2 separate regions of the Homo sapiens genome follow, and region 1 is linked to region 2. The links are contacts of gene promoters, found by promoter capture Hi-C in human tissues and cell types (Jung and others, 2019). All regions are on one chromosome and are shown on one strand. The core of a region is centred on a gene start or on the middle of the fragment in contact, and the rest is flanking DNA. Distances in the headings are between cores, read along the strand shown. Region 1 holds the start of LOC124906236 (Sjoegren syndrome nuclear autoantigen 1 homolog). Region 2 holds the start of AMT (aminomethyltransferase).

Region 1 (6,495 bases), core at 121-2,620, 100 kb before region 2:
GTAGCTGGGACTACAGGCGCCTGCCACCATGCCCGTGGTGTTTTTTTTTTTTTTTAAGTATTTTTAGTAGAGACGGGGTTTCACTGTGTTAGCCAGGATGGTCTCAATCTCCTGACCTCGTGATCCGCCCGCCTCGGCCTCCCAAAGTGCTGGGATTACAGGCATGAGCCACTGCGCCCAGCCTGAGATGGAGTTTCACTCTTGTTGCCCAGGCTGGAAAGCAATGGTGAAGTCTCAGCTCACTGCAACCTCTGCCTCCTGGGTTTAAGCGAGTCTCTTGCCTCAGGCTCCCAGGTAGCTGGGATTACAGGCACACGCCACCACGCCTGGCTAATTTTTGCATTTTTAGTAGAGACAGGGTTTCACCATGTTGGCCAGACTGGTCTTGAACTCCTGACCTTAGGTGATCCGCCCGCCTTGGCCTCCCAAAGTGCTGGGATTATAGGCATGAGCCACCGTGCCTGACCTAATTTTATTTTTTTAAGAGACAGGGTCACATTATGTTGCCTAGGATGGTCTCAAACTCCTGGGCTCAAGCAATCTTCCCACATCAGCCTCTCAAACTGCTGGGATTACAGGCATGAGCCACCAGTGCCCAGCTACAATAAACTCTTAACAGTCAGAATACTTGCTGCCTTACCAAAAGTCAAGCTGTGACTCCACACCAACACTGTGAACACCATCTGTAGGCAAAGGTGGCTTTCTTAACTTCAGGGACACCAATCTCTTCTGGCTCTGGGCTGGCAACCTTAAAGGGCCTTATAGACCTCAGGCAAGTGACGTTAAAGGGAAAGAGAGAAACAGATGGAAAGAGACAAAGCCAGGTCTACACAAACCCTTGAGAAACTAATATTAAGTTAGCTGGAGCAATTCACATGGAAGAGAAAACTCTGAAAATGCCCAGAATTTACAAGGTGGTCCTCATTAGTGAAAAAAAGACAATTAAATATAAACAACCGGCCAGGTGTGGTGGCTCACGCCTGTAATCCCAGCACTCTGGGACGCCAAGGCGGGTGGATCACCTGAGGCCAGGAGTTCGAGACCAGCCTGGCCAACGTGGTGAAATCCCATCTCTACTAAAAATACAAAAAATTAGCCGGGCGTGGTGGCACGAACCCGTAATCCCAGCTGCTCAGGAGGCTGAGGCAGGAGAATCGCTTGAACCTGAGAGGCAGAGGTTGCAGTGAGCCGAGATCGTGCCACTGCACTCCAGCCTGGGTGACAGAGCAAGACTCTGCCTCAAAAAAAAAAAAAAAACAAACCACCATCACCACCACCAAGGAATCCATCCATGGAAACATTTACTATCCTCTGCCAAGAAATATATTAAATTGGAGGGAGGACTGTTGAGGGATAAATAAATAAATAGAAATACATTGGCCAGGCATGGTGGCTCACACCTGTAATTCCACCACCTTGGGAGGGATTGCGCCACTGCACTCCTGCTTGGGTGACAGAGCAAGACTGCATCTCAAAAAAAAAAAAAAAGAAATATATAAAACTGACTCTATTGGTAGGTTTTAAAAAAGTTATTAAGCCAACTAGTGACCTTCCTTCGATGACATATTCCCTTGATGTACGTTTTCTTGTTATTTTTTGAGACGGAGTCTTGCTCTGTTGCCCAGGCTGGAGTGCAGTGGCGCGATCTCGGCTGACCGCAACCTCCGCCTCCCGGGTTCAAGAGATTCTCCTGCCTCAGCCTCCCGAGTAGCTGGGACTACAGGAGCATGCCATCACACCCAGCTAATTTTTTTGTATTTTTAGTAGAGACGGGGTTTCACCATATTGGCCCAGGATGGTCTTGATCTCTTGACCTCGTGATGTGCCTGCCTCTGCCTCCCAAAGTGCTGGGATTACAGGCATAAGCCACTATTTCCATTCCCTCAATTTCAACTTCTCTGTGTCTTTGACACACAATGTATTACTAAACATGTTTGTTTGTTTGTTTGTTTGTTTGTTTTCTGAGATGGAGTCTTGCTCTGTCACGCAGGCTGGAGTGCAATGGTGCCATCTCAGCTCACTACAACCTCCACCTCCTGAGTTCAAGCAATTCTCCTGCCTCAGCCTCCCAAGTAGCTGGGATTACAGGTGCACGCCACCACTCCTGGCTAATTTTCTGTACTTTTAGTAGATAGGGGGGTCTCGCTATGTTCACCAGGCTGGTCTTGAACTCCTGACCTCAAGTGATCCACCCACCTCCGCCTCCCAAAGTGGGATTACAGGCCATGAGCCACTGTGCCCAGCCTTGTTTTGTTTTCTTGTGTTTTGAGACAAGCTCTTGCTCTGTCACCCAGGCTGCAGTGCAGTGCACAATTATAGCTCACTACAGCCTCAAACTCCTGTGCTCAAGGGATCCTCCCACCTCAGCCTCCCAAGAAGCTGGAACTGCAGGCACAAGCTACCATGCCCAGCTAATTTTTAAAAAAAATTTTGTAGAGACAGGAGTCTTGCTATGTTGACCAGGCTGGTCTCAAACTCCTATCCTCAAGCAATCCTCCCACCTCAGCTTTCCAAAATGTTGGGATTACAGGTATAAGCCACCATGCCTGACTCTTTTTTTCCAAGAGACAGGGTCTCCAGCCTGACCAACATGGAGAAACCCTGTCTCTACTAAAAATACAAAATTAGCCGGGCGTGGTGGCGCATGCCTGTAATCCCAGCTACTCGAGAGGCTGAGGCAGGAGAATTGCTTGAACCTGGGAGGCAGAGGTTGCAGTGAGCCAAGATCGCGCCATTACACTCCAACCTGGGCAACAAGAGTGAAACTCCATCTCAAACAAAAAAGAAAAAGAAAAAGAGACAGCATCTCACTCTGTCGTCCAGGCTGGAGTGCAATGATGCAATCGTGGCTCACGGTAACTTCGAACTCCTGGGCTCAAGCAAGCTTCCTCCCTCAGCCTTCTGAGTAGCTAGGACTATAGGCACATACCACTGTATCCCTGGTGTGGTTTGTCTTTTAAAGTCTGATCTGAGAGTTTGTCTTTAGTTTGGTAAATTTAACTCATCTACAGTGATTCTAATGCTGTTATTAGACTTCACTGAATTTAATTCAGCCTCCTTATTTCAGGTTTCTTTTTTTTCCCCCTTTTTCCACATGTTCTAACATGCTTTCTAATTACCATACTTCTTATTTTTTCCCCCCTTCATTTTTGCCTTCCATTAATTTTCCTTTTGCAGGTGTGGCAGTTTGCTAGTCGCCTCCTGCTAGCTATTTTCCCCTCCTTCCTTAGTTTGAGAACCCCAGTTTTTAGCTGGACATGATGCAGTCCTGCTATACAGTACATCCCAGCCTTCCTGAAAGCCAGGTATTGTCATATGATTAGCCAATGAGATACAAAGGAGGTTTGATGTATGATATCTGAGAAATGTCCTAAAAAGGAAGGGGTAGGTCAGCTGGGTTTAATATTGCCATGGAGCTGCTACGTCAGCAATGGATTGACTGCCTACGTCAGAAATTCTTTTCAGAAAGATGTAAGCCTCCATCTTGCTTAATACGCTAATTTGCAGATTTTTCTTACCTGCCAGCAAGCCTTTCCTAACTGACGTAGTATGTTTCAAAGTTATACATTCAATTTTCCGTTTCTGTTAGTTGTTCCATTAACTTATTAGGATCTCTATTTTTATTTTTCCCCATAAATTACATAAACTTACAATTGTTCACCTTTCTCATCCTCAAGAATAGTAGTTCTGGACATTCTCATCTCTCTCTGCTCTATACTAATTCCTCACCTATGTTGGAATTACCCAGAATTTATCTCTGGAATATTATAGATACTAGTTGCTTTCTTAAACCTTGATTATTATTGTACCTTTTTTTTTTTTTTCTCCTGAGACAGAGTCTCACTGTATCGCCCAAGCTGGAGTGCAGTGGCACGATCTAGGCTCACTGCAATCCCCACCACCATTCTCATGCCTCAGCCTCCCCAGTAGCTACGATTACAGGCATGTGCCACTGCACCGGGCTAATTTTCTTCTATTTTTTAAGAGATGGGGTTTCAGCATGTTGGCCAGCCACCGCACCTGGCCTATTATTGATTTTTTTTGGCCGGGCGCCGTGGCTTATGCCTGTAATCCCAGCATTTTGGGAGGCCGAGGCAGGCGGATCACTTGAGGCTAGAAGTTCGAGACCAGCCTGGCCAACATGGTGAAACCCCGTCTCTACTAAAAATACAAAAATTGGCTGTGCATGGGTGGCATGCACCTGTAATCCCAGCTACTCAGGAGGCTGAGGCACAGAATTGCTTGAACCCAGGAGGCAGAGGTTACAGTGAACCGAGATCATGCCACTGGACTCCAGCCTGGGCTACAGATCAAGACTCCGTCTATTAAAAAAACAAAAAAACAAAACCCCTGAGTGTATAAAATCAAGAAATTTGCACCAAGTGATACATCCATGTAACCACTACCCTGACCAAGAAACAGGACACCCCCAGACCCCTAGGTGTCCTTCTCACGATTCAGTCGCAATTCTTCCCAACACTAACCAGTTCTGACCATGAATCCCCAAGGTTAATTTTGCCTGTTATAAAGTTTTAAGTCAACAGAATCATTATGCCCTGCTCTGTGTCTACCTTCTCTCATTCATCATTTTTCATTAGACTCATCACTGTTGTGCAAAGCTGGACAGAATTTCCTTGTGTGCTTACACTTACTGCAGTTTATCCATTTACTTTTGATGGACATTTGGGTTAGCTCCAGTTTGTAACTATGACAAGCAGTGCTAGCACAAACATCCTGAAATATGTATTTAAGAGAACATGGGATATATTTCTATTGGTTATATGCCTAACAACAGGATTGTTGAGTAGCAGAATGTGCATATAATTCTACATTTTTGCCTCTTTTTTTTACTAGTGTTGCCTGACTTGTTTGTATTGACTAGTAGGAATTTCTTTGCAACTCTAGATATACGACCAGCTGTGGTGGCTCATGCCTGTAATCCAGCACTTTGGGAGGCTAAGGCAGGCAGATAACTACAGGCCAGGAGTTCAAGACCAGCCTGGCCAACATGGTAAAACCCTGTCTCTACTAAAAATACAAAAATTAGCTGGGCATGGTGGTGGGAGCTTGTAGTCCCAGCTGCTCGGGAGGCTGAGGCATCAGTCACTTGAACCCGGGAGTGGGGGTGCAGTGAGCTGAGATCGCACCATTGCACTCCAACCTTGGCAAGAGAGTAAGACTCCGTCACAGGGAAAAAAAAAAAAGAAAAAAAAATTCTGGACACAACTTGTCAGACATGGATTACAAATCTCTTCTCTCACTGTATGGCTTATGGCTTGTCTTCACTCACTGGTGAACAGACATTCTTTTTTTTTTGAGATGGAGTTTCGCTCTTGTTCCCCAGGCTAGAGTGCAATGGTGCAATCTCAGTTCCCTGCAACCTCCGCCTCCCGGGTTCAAGCGATTCTCCTGCCTCAGCCTCCCAAGTAGCTGAAATTACAGATATGCACCACCACGCCTGGCTAATTTTGCATTTTTAGTAGAGACAGGGTTTCTCCATGTTGGTCAGGCTGGTCTCAAACTCTCAACCTCAGGTGAGCCGCCCACCTCGGCCTCCCAAAGTGCTGGGATTACAGGCATGAGCCACTGCTCCTGGCCTTTTTAAAAAAAAAAAAAAAAAAAAAAAAAAAGAGATGGGGTCTTGCTGTCGCCCAGGCTGGAGGGCAATGGCAGAATCATAGCTCACTGCAGCCTCAAACTCCTGGACTCAAGCAATGCTCCCACCTCAGCCTGTCAGGTAGCTGGGACTACAGGCACTCACCATTGTGCTTAATCCCATCTGCAAAGTCCCTTTTGCCATGTCACCTGACATAATGACAGATTCTGAAACAGATTCTGGGAATTAGGATATGGATATCTCAGGGTGAAGATGAGCACAGCTATGCCTACCACAGCTATTTTATTTATCTTGTCAACAACTGGCAACCGGGGTTTCTTAAACTGGAGTCCATGACTGGACTTCAGGGGTTCTAACAGTTCTTCTCTTAAGAACTCATAGTTTTCATGGTTCTCAAATGACCTAGGAGCCCACTACTATGTAATGGTCACAGTCCAAGGCCTGACAGAGGGAAAAGGACAGAGCGCAACATTATTCCCATAACTACTGGAACACAGATATAATTTCCAAAACTTATACCATAACGAAAATTAATCACTTCTTTATCTCCCTAAGAACATGCACAGTTCCACATACCACATGAACATCTCTTGAAACAGATGTGTCCTTAGTCCAAGTTTTGTAGCTGAACAATTCACCCAGCAAGCTCCCAGGGCAACAATGAGTAACAGGCCACTGGGCAGAAACAGGTAGAATCAAGCTATCACTTTTTTTTTGTTTTTGTTTTTTTTGGGTCAGAGTCTTGCACTGTCACCTAGGCTGGAGTATAATGGTGCGATCTCAGCTCACTGCAGCCTTCACCTCCTGGATTCAAGCGACTCTTGAGCCTCAGCCTCCCGAGTAGCTGAGATTACAGGTACCTGCCACCATGCCTAGCT
Region 2 (7,192 bases), core at 578-3,077:
CTTCACCTACCCAAACCTGGGACGACTTAGCCCATGTGGCAACCCACAGGACAAAAGCTTCAAAGGTCATCTTGATGATCGCAGGCTCTCCTAAGTACTCCATAGCAATGCCCCCAAAAAACTTCCTTAGCCTCCCCACTGGATGGACAAAAAGCCTGAGGTTGAGGGGGTCACATGAATCACCTGGGGATCTTGTTAAAATGAAGGTTCTGATTCAGCAGGTCTGCAGCAGTGCCTGAGACTATATTCCTAACAAGCTCCAAAGATGCTGGTTTAGAGACCACACTTTGTTGTTGTTATTTTTCTTTTTAGACTGAGTCTCACTCTGTTGCCCAGGCCAGAGTGCAGTGGTGCAACCTCAGCTTGCTGCAACCTCAGCCTCCCGAGTAGCTGGGACTACAAGCACGCGCCACCACGCCCGGCTAATTTTTGTGTTTTTAGTAGAAACGAGGTTTTGCCATGTTGGCCAGGCTGGTCTCGAACTCCTGACCTCAGGTGATCCACCCGCCTTGGCCTCCCCAAGTGCCAGGATTACAGGTGTTTGAGTCACGTCGCCTGGCCAGGGACCACATGTTGAATAGAGAGGGGTTAAGCAGAAGGGATGGCCAGAGAGCAGCATATTAACCTTGGTTTCTGGCCTCCTAGCCTGATGTAGTAAGACTGGGATATTCCCCTCCCTACAAATGTCTGTGTCTCTGGAAATGACTCAGGGATTCTGTCCAAGACTGCAAGCCCTGAGAAGCTGTGTTTGACTCATCTCTGTGCCCCTAAGCCTGAGGTAGGGACTCAGCCCATTTGCTGGCTCATGACTAAGAAAACTCATAGAGCAGAAATAAAAGGGCCCACCTGGTTTGGTCTTAGCTCTGCAATGTCTCCAACCACTAGACTCTCCATCAGCTTCACCCGGTCACTACCAAGTATCTTGGTCTGGGGAAGAGATTGAAAGCCTCAGGCCATTGCAACAGCTACAATCCAAAAGGCTACTAAGCAAGGATGCATCCTCCCTGCCATCCACAGTGCAGTCCAGCCCACCCAAAGTGACTAACCAGTCTTTTGGTTCTACACGTGGCAAAGGACCACCTTCTGATTTCCTGACCTCCCCCAGTCACTCTGTGTGGGGGGACTGCCAGGGAACTGGACAGGACCTAGCACCTTCCTGAAATAACCCCTTTTCAAACCAACATCCAGCCCAATACATGAGAGTGGGTGTCAGCCCTGGAAAACCCGGGACATTAAGGCACACCATTTAATGGGGGCAAGCTAGAAGGATGAGATGATGAGACCCTCTGAGCTCATTTCCTTGGGGCCATTGACCTATCCATGACACCCCCATGACCTCTAGCTCTTCTGAGAAGGCTGTCCTTGGAATCCAGTTCACAGCAAACAAAGCCAAGGAGTGGACCACTGTAAACAGGGAGGAAGGCCTGATCAGATGGCCAGTGTGCTCCCCTGGCTCACCTGCAGCATATGAGACACGTCAAAGAGCGAGCAGTGCTGGCGTGTGTGCAGGTGCGAGTCAGTGTGACTGTCCCGGTACTGCACTGGCAGACTCCAACCCGCAAACGCCACCATTTTCCCGCCGTGGGCCAGGTGGAAGTCATAGAGCGGTGTCCTGCGGAGCACCTCCTGTGGGCGGCTGGGCTTAGTGCCACCAGGGCCCTAGCCCCCAGCCGCTTCCCTCCCCCACCCTCCAAGATCAGCACCCTCTATCCCACCTGTGCGCAACTAAGTGGACGACACAAGGCCGGGGGGAATGCCTGCAGGCGAAAGCCCAGACGGGCCACCACACTTACAGCCCTCTGCATCGTCGCCTGCAACGAGTGCAGACGGCGCACAGAGGCCACCACACTGCCAGGCACGCCGGGAGATGTAGTCCAGGCCTCTGCTCGGACAGGTCTCTCTCCGGAGCAAAGGATCTGAAGGGGGCGTGGGCAGCCCCAAGGGCAGGCTGGGATTTAGAGCAGAGAATGCAGGAACCCGCAACCACAGGGAAGAAGCCTCCAGCTCTTTCGGCTGACTCTTCAGGGCAGCTCGGGCAATCCAGAGCTGATTGGGCTGCCCAGAACAAAGCTAGGGGCTAGACCGCCCCCTGCAGAACCGCCCTGTCTCCAGAGGGTCAAAGTTCTGGAAAGGGCTGAAAGGTCTGAATCATACCTTTAGGACCTCAAGAGAGTAAGGTCAAGTGGGGGTGGGGAAGGTGGGCCAGCCTGGCAGGTAGGCAGCACCACAGTAGTCTGTCCTCATGTGGACCCCTAGTTCCACAGCTCTCCCACCAGGCAGACACAGGCAGCCAGCAGTCATGCATTCCACAAGTATTTATTGATCTTACTGCATACCAGGCCCTCAGATGGGGACACAGCCACGAATGAAGCATGGTCCCTGCTACCACAAGGTCCTCTTCACTTACACACACACTGAGGACTACTGCTTCGTCACGCTTTCCGAAGCAGCTGAGTGGGGCTATGTAAGTGACCTTGCAGATGAAGTCGCCACCTGCAAGAACTCACAGGTGAGAACAGAGGGTGGCCACCAAAAGGTCACTGAACTCCCCCGAGAAAACTGTTGAGCCACACACATGTCCAACTTTCCAGGTCCAAGACATACTGCAGTACTGCTTTGTAATAGCCACCAGGTGCAAAGCCAGGAAGAACCAGAGGGAAACAGGTTTTTCTCACATGAGGGAAGAGCAGCCTGCATCACTTAATGGTTGGACTGAGTTAATGCAGGACTTAGGCCTCTTAAAAGGCAACAATGAGAACCCTTACTTGGACCCACTCCCCACCACGGTTGATCTCTCATTATGCTGAGCATATCTCTTGGAAAGGGGCAGGGCGGGCGCGGTGGCTCATGCCTGTAATCCCAGCACTTTGGAAGGCCAAGGCAGGCAGATCACCTGAGGTCAGGTGTTTGAGACCAGCCTGACCAACATGGAGAAACCCCATCTCTACTACAAATACAAAATTAGCCAGGCATGGTGATGCATGACTGTAATCCCAGCTACTCGGGAGACTGAGGCAGGAGAATTGCTTGAACCTGGGAGGCGGAGGTTGCAGTTAGCCAAGATTGCACTATTGCACTCCAGCCTGGGCAACAAGAGCAAAACTCAACCTCAAAAAAAACAACAAAAAAGGAGAGGGGCAACTGGGAGAAAGGATAGAGATGTGCTTTGGGCTATGTCAGATGGCAGAAGGGTCCCAGTTCTTTTTTTTTTGTTTGTTTGTTTAAGATGGAGTTTCGCTCTTCTTGCCCAGGCTGGAGTGCAATGGCATGATCTCAGGTCCGCAACCTCCACTTCCCGGGTTCAAGAGATTCTCCTGCCTCAGCCTCCCAAGTAGCTGGGATTACAGGTGCCTACCACCACGCCCAGCTAATTTTTTGTATTTTTAGTAGAGACGGGGTTTCTCCAGGTTGGTCAGGCTGGTCTTGAACTCCTGACCTCAGGTGATCCGCCTGCCTGGGCCTCCCAAAGTGCTGGGATTACAGGCGTGAGCCACTGCACCCTGCCTAGAAGGGTCCCAGTTCTTATGCTCAGGCCCTGGTTTTGCTAGAGACACGTGCCCAGGCCCTATGGGCACACCCACTTGAACATATATTCAGGAGCCAGCTCAGAAACCAAGAGACTCAGGCTGCCCAAATCTTCAGGTTTCCTTCCTAGGCAGGCAGCAGAAGAGTTCAGACAGGAAATTTCTCTCTGTGGCATAACACAAATGGAAAGAAAACCACTAGGGGACACACAGGAAGAAATAAGGTTTCTGTTTCTTCCTCAAGTGTCCCAAGTGCCATGGCAGCAATGGCCTTCCAGGTCCATACATGGAGCAGGTTTTAGTAGGTCAGCCCAGCCCAACTGCACTGACATGAGGGAGCAGGCAGAAGACAGGAATGTGCATGTTGCCAGAAGGGGCAGAGGGCACTCAGGGATTCTCAGTAAGTACAACTGACTGGAGTGTTTTTGGGTAGAAGGAAGAATTGAGTTGCAGCCAGGCGAAGACAGAGCACCCCCATGCCAGGAGCTCATGCTGAAGTAACACGGTAAGCCCCTGAGAATCCTGAATCTGTGAATGTGGCCCAGACAGAACAGGCATGCAGGCAACACTTGGAATGCACAGGAAATACACTTCAGCCTCTGGTGGCCCAAACCAAGTCTGGGTGGGCACAGAAAGGCCAACATCTTGGCTAGGAGCAACCATTCAAGTGTAGGAGAGCAAGTTCAGGTCATAACAGCCATCCACCTGAAATACAAAAGACCATCAGGTCTGATCTGCTCAGGGCAAAGCAAGCCAAGCAGAAGGAAGCGATTACTTACATCAAAGCGGCCGATCCTTGCGGAGGTGTGACTGGCCCGGATCATCTCTGTCAGTGCCCACATCTGCTGCACCTCGGAGGATACCCTGCTGGGGTCTGGGAGACCCTGCTCCAGAAGGAGGGGTCAGTGGCCATGGGTCTCTCCCCAGCAGTGCCCTTCAGGCTCCAGAGAGGCCAACCTGGGCTAGGGGCCCTCCAGCTGAGACCAACAACATTCTCAGATGGCTTATGAAACATGAGGTTAGGGCCTGATGTAGCCCCACAACAGAGATGCCTCAAATCCCACAGAATACCCAGGAGGAAGATAACACCCAAGGGCCCTGGGCCCAGCCCCAGAATTTTACAGGAAGGGGTCTACCTGGCCTGTGTTGGACACTAGAGCCATTCACACATGGTTCTTACCTAGGGTGAGGGCTTACCTCACGGAGGAGTGCAGGTTGCTCACAGGGCACTGGGTGGGAGAGCCACTTGGGAAAGGTCACGGAGGGGCTCTGCAAAGCAAAGATGTACTGCCCTGAGTGAGACAAAGTGGACAGCTCTGGGACCAGATTCCAAGGTCCTAGGAGCAGAGAGAAGGGCCGCTGGGCCTCAGACACTGGGAAAACCCTGTTTAGGGAGCCCACAGAGACCTAAAGAGGCAGTCAGACTACCTAAGTTCTCCTGCTGTGCAGACGGAGTCCTCAGAAACACAAGCTCAAAAGTGTCTCCCAGCACCTAAAGGCTCCAGCTCTGAAAGTAGCAGGTGGCCCCAAAGGTCAGGGGATATGGGGACATGGCCTCACCTCTCATTGTGAGCTTCCAGCATTCACACCCAGCTAACCTCCATGAAGGCCCCATTCACAATCTTCACCCATTACCCACCCCACCACCTAGCTTTCCCAGTCATAGAAGCTTTCTGGGGAAAGGGCCAGCCAGCAGCTGAGCTAGTCACTTACCTTTGGTCCCTGCTGATAGATCTGCAGCTCCTCCACTGTGAAAGACAGCCACAGTGGTGATGGCTGCCGCAGAATCAGGCGTAGCTCCGATATTCTAGCCATGTCACACAGCATCTGACACACACACACAAGGACCCAGCAAGGATCCAGCTCACTGCCCAGAAGCCTCCCAACCAGCAATGAGCCAGAATGCTGCCCACCCCACAGGCCTTGGGAAGGAAGGAACAGTAGTCCCTCCAAGGCACTTCCCTGGAAGTCACAGTTCAGGCCAGACTGGCCCCCTCTTCCCTCTTGGTATATTGATCCAATCCCCCCACCTCTGGTAAGTCCTCATCTGGGCTGCCCTGGCCATCCTGAGGCCCAGCTGACCTGATGCTTGAACAGCGATACATACTCCTGGGCTCCCTCCTCACTGTGTGGGTCAGGCATTAGGCAGTAGTCCCGCAGGCAGGTCACCCACTTGGCAGGTGTGTGTGCTGAGGTGTACTGACGGACACGGATGCTCAAAAAAGCTGTGTAGTAATTCTTAAACGTGATTTCCTGCAACTAGAACACATACAACCCATTACAACAAGTCAGACCCAGGCCCAGGGGCCTGAAAAGCTCAAAGATCAAAGGTGCCACCTCTTCCTTCTCCCCACCTTTTCTTTTTTTTTTTTTTTTGAGAGGAAATCTTGCTCTTTTGCCCAGGCTGGAGTGCAGTAGCGTGATCTCAGCTCACTGCAACCTCCACCTCCCAGGTTCAAGCGATTCTCCTGCCTCAGCCTCCCTAGTAGCCGGGACTACAGGTACGTGCCACCACGCCCAGCTAATTGTTTTGTACTTTTAGTAGAGACAGAATTTCACCATGTTGGCCAGGATGCTCTCAAATTCCTGACCTTAGGTGATCCACCTGCCTCTTCCCCTTTCAATGTACTCTTCTACTAAACTAACAATTTCAACAAGTATCACTAGGGCCCAAAGACAATTCTGCCTTCCTAAAGGTGCTCACAGTCTAAATGAGTAGGTCCTGGAAACAAACCACGACTGCAGATCTTGCCACACGTCCAAGATGCTGCTAGAGAGCAGCGCTCTAACCCTGGAAGAGGCAGAAAATGTACATATGAGGCCTGAAGGAGGAAGAGTTCACCAAGTGGACTAAGAAATGTAGAAAACGTGGCCGGGCACGGTGGCTCAAGCCTGTAATCCCAGCACTTTCGGAGGCCGAGGCGGGCGGATCACAAGGTCAGGAGATTGAGACCATCCTGGCTAACACAGTGAAACCCCGTCTCTACTAAAAATACAAAAAATTAGCCGGGCTTGGTGGCGGGCACCTGTAGTCCCAGCTACTCGGGAGGCTGAGGCAGGAGAATGGCGTGAACCCAGGAGGCGGAGCTTGCAGTGAGCTGAGATCGCGCCATTCCACTCCAGCCTGGGCGCGACAGAGCAAGACACGGTCTCAAAAAAAAAAAAAAAGAGATGTAGAAAACGTAGGCTGGGTGCAGTGGCTTACATCTGTCTGTAATGCCAGCACTTTGGGAGGCTGGGGCGGGTGGATCATTTAAGTTCAGGAGTTCGAGACCAGCCTGACCAACATAGTGAAACCCAATCTCTACTAAAAATACAAAAATATTAGCTGAGCGTGGTGGCGCATGCCTGTAATCCCAGCTACTCGGGAGGCTGAGGCAGGAGAATTGCTTGAACCCAGGAGGTGGAGGTTGCAGTGAGCCAAGATCAAGCCACTGTACTCCAGCCTGGGTGACAAAACGAGGCTACCTCTCAGAAAAAAAAAAAAAAAAAAAGAAATGTAGATAATGTAAAAGTAGCATATACAAATAATTACCAAAGGGTGAGAGAACCTGGTGTGCCACTGGAACAGCCAGTGATTCAGCTTGACTACTGCAGTGGATCTTGTCATTGGATACTCATCAGAATTACCCAAGAAAATGTGTTACCAAATAAATTGTCCTGGCTTC

Evidence for each region. Contacts are between HindIII fragments. The study calls those that stand out against the background at their distance.
Region 1: a fragment that was not itself captured here is called in contact with the fragment with the promoter of AMT in region 2 in 4 of the 25 tissues and cell types used here (liver, lymphoblastoid cells, mesenchymal stem cells and 1 more).

The regions. Positions count from the first base shown.
Region 1 is chr3:49,317,669-49,324,163 of GRCh38, forward strand. The region is part of intron 6 of USP4 (ubiquitin specific peptidase 4); the gene reads right to left. LOC124906236 (Sjoegren syndrome nuclear autoantigen 1 homolog) reads right to left here and starts at 1,394. Exons shown (of 2, transcript XM_047449404.1): 1 at 641-1,394. The HindIII fragment of the contact is 7,768 bases long and covers 1-5,254 here.
Region 2 is chr3:49,420,646-49,427,837 of GRCh38, forward strand. It overlaps AMT (aminomethyltransferase), which reads right to left and starts at 1,828. Exons shown (of 9, transcript NM_000481.4): 1 at 1,716-1,828; 2 at 1,459-1,626; 3 at 847-927. The coding sequence starts at 1,805. It overlaps NICN1 (nicolin 1, tubulin polyglutamylase complex subunit), which reads right to left. Exons shown (of 6, transcript NM_032316.3): 2 at 5,607-5,783; 3 at 5,238-5,351; 4 at 4,722-4,793; 5 at 4,304-4,408; 6 at 1,688-4,229. The coding sequence ends at 4,188. RefSeq lists enhancers at 703-1,455, 1,456-2,209. The HindIII fragment of the contact is 4,289 bases long and covers 1-2,625 here.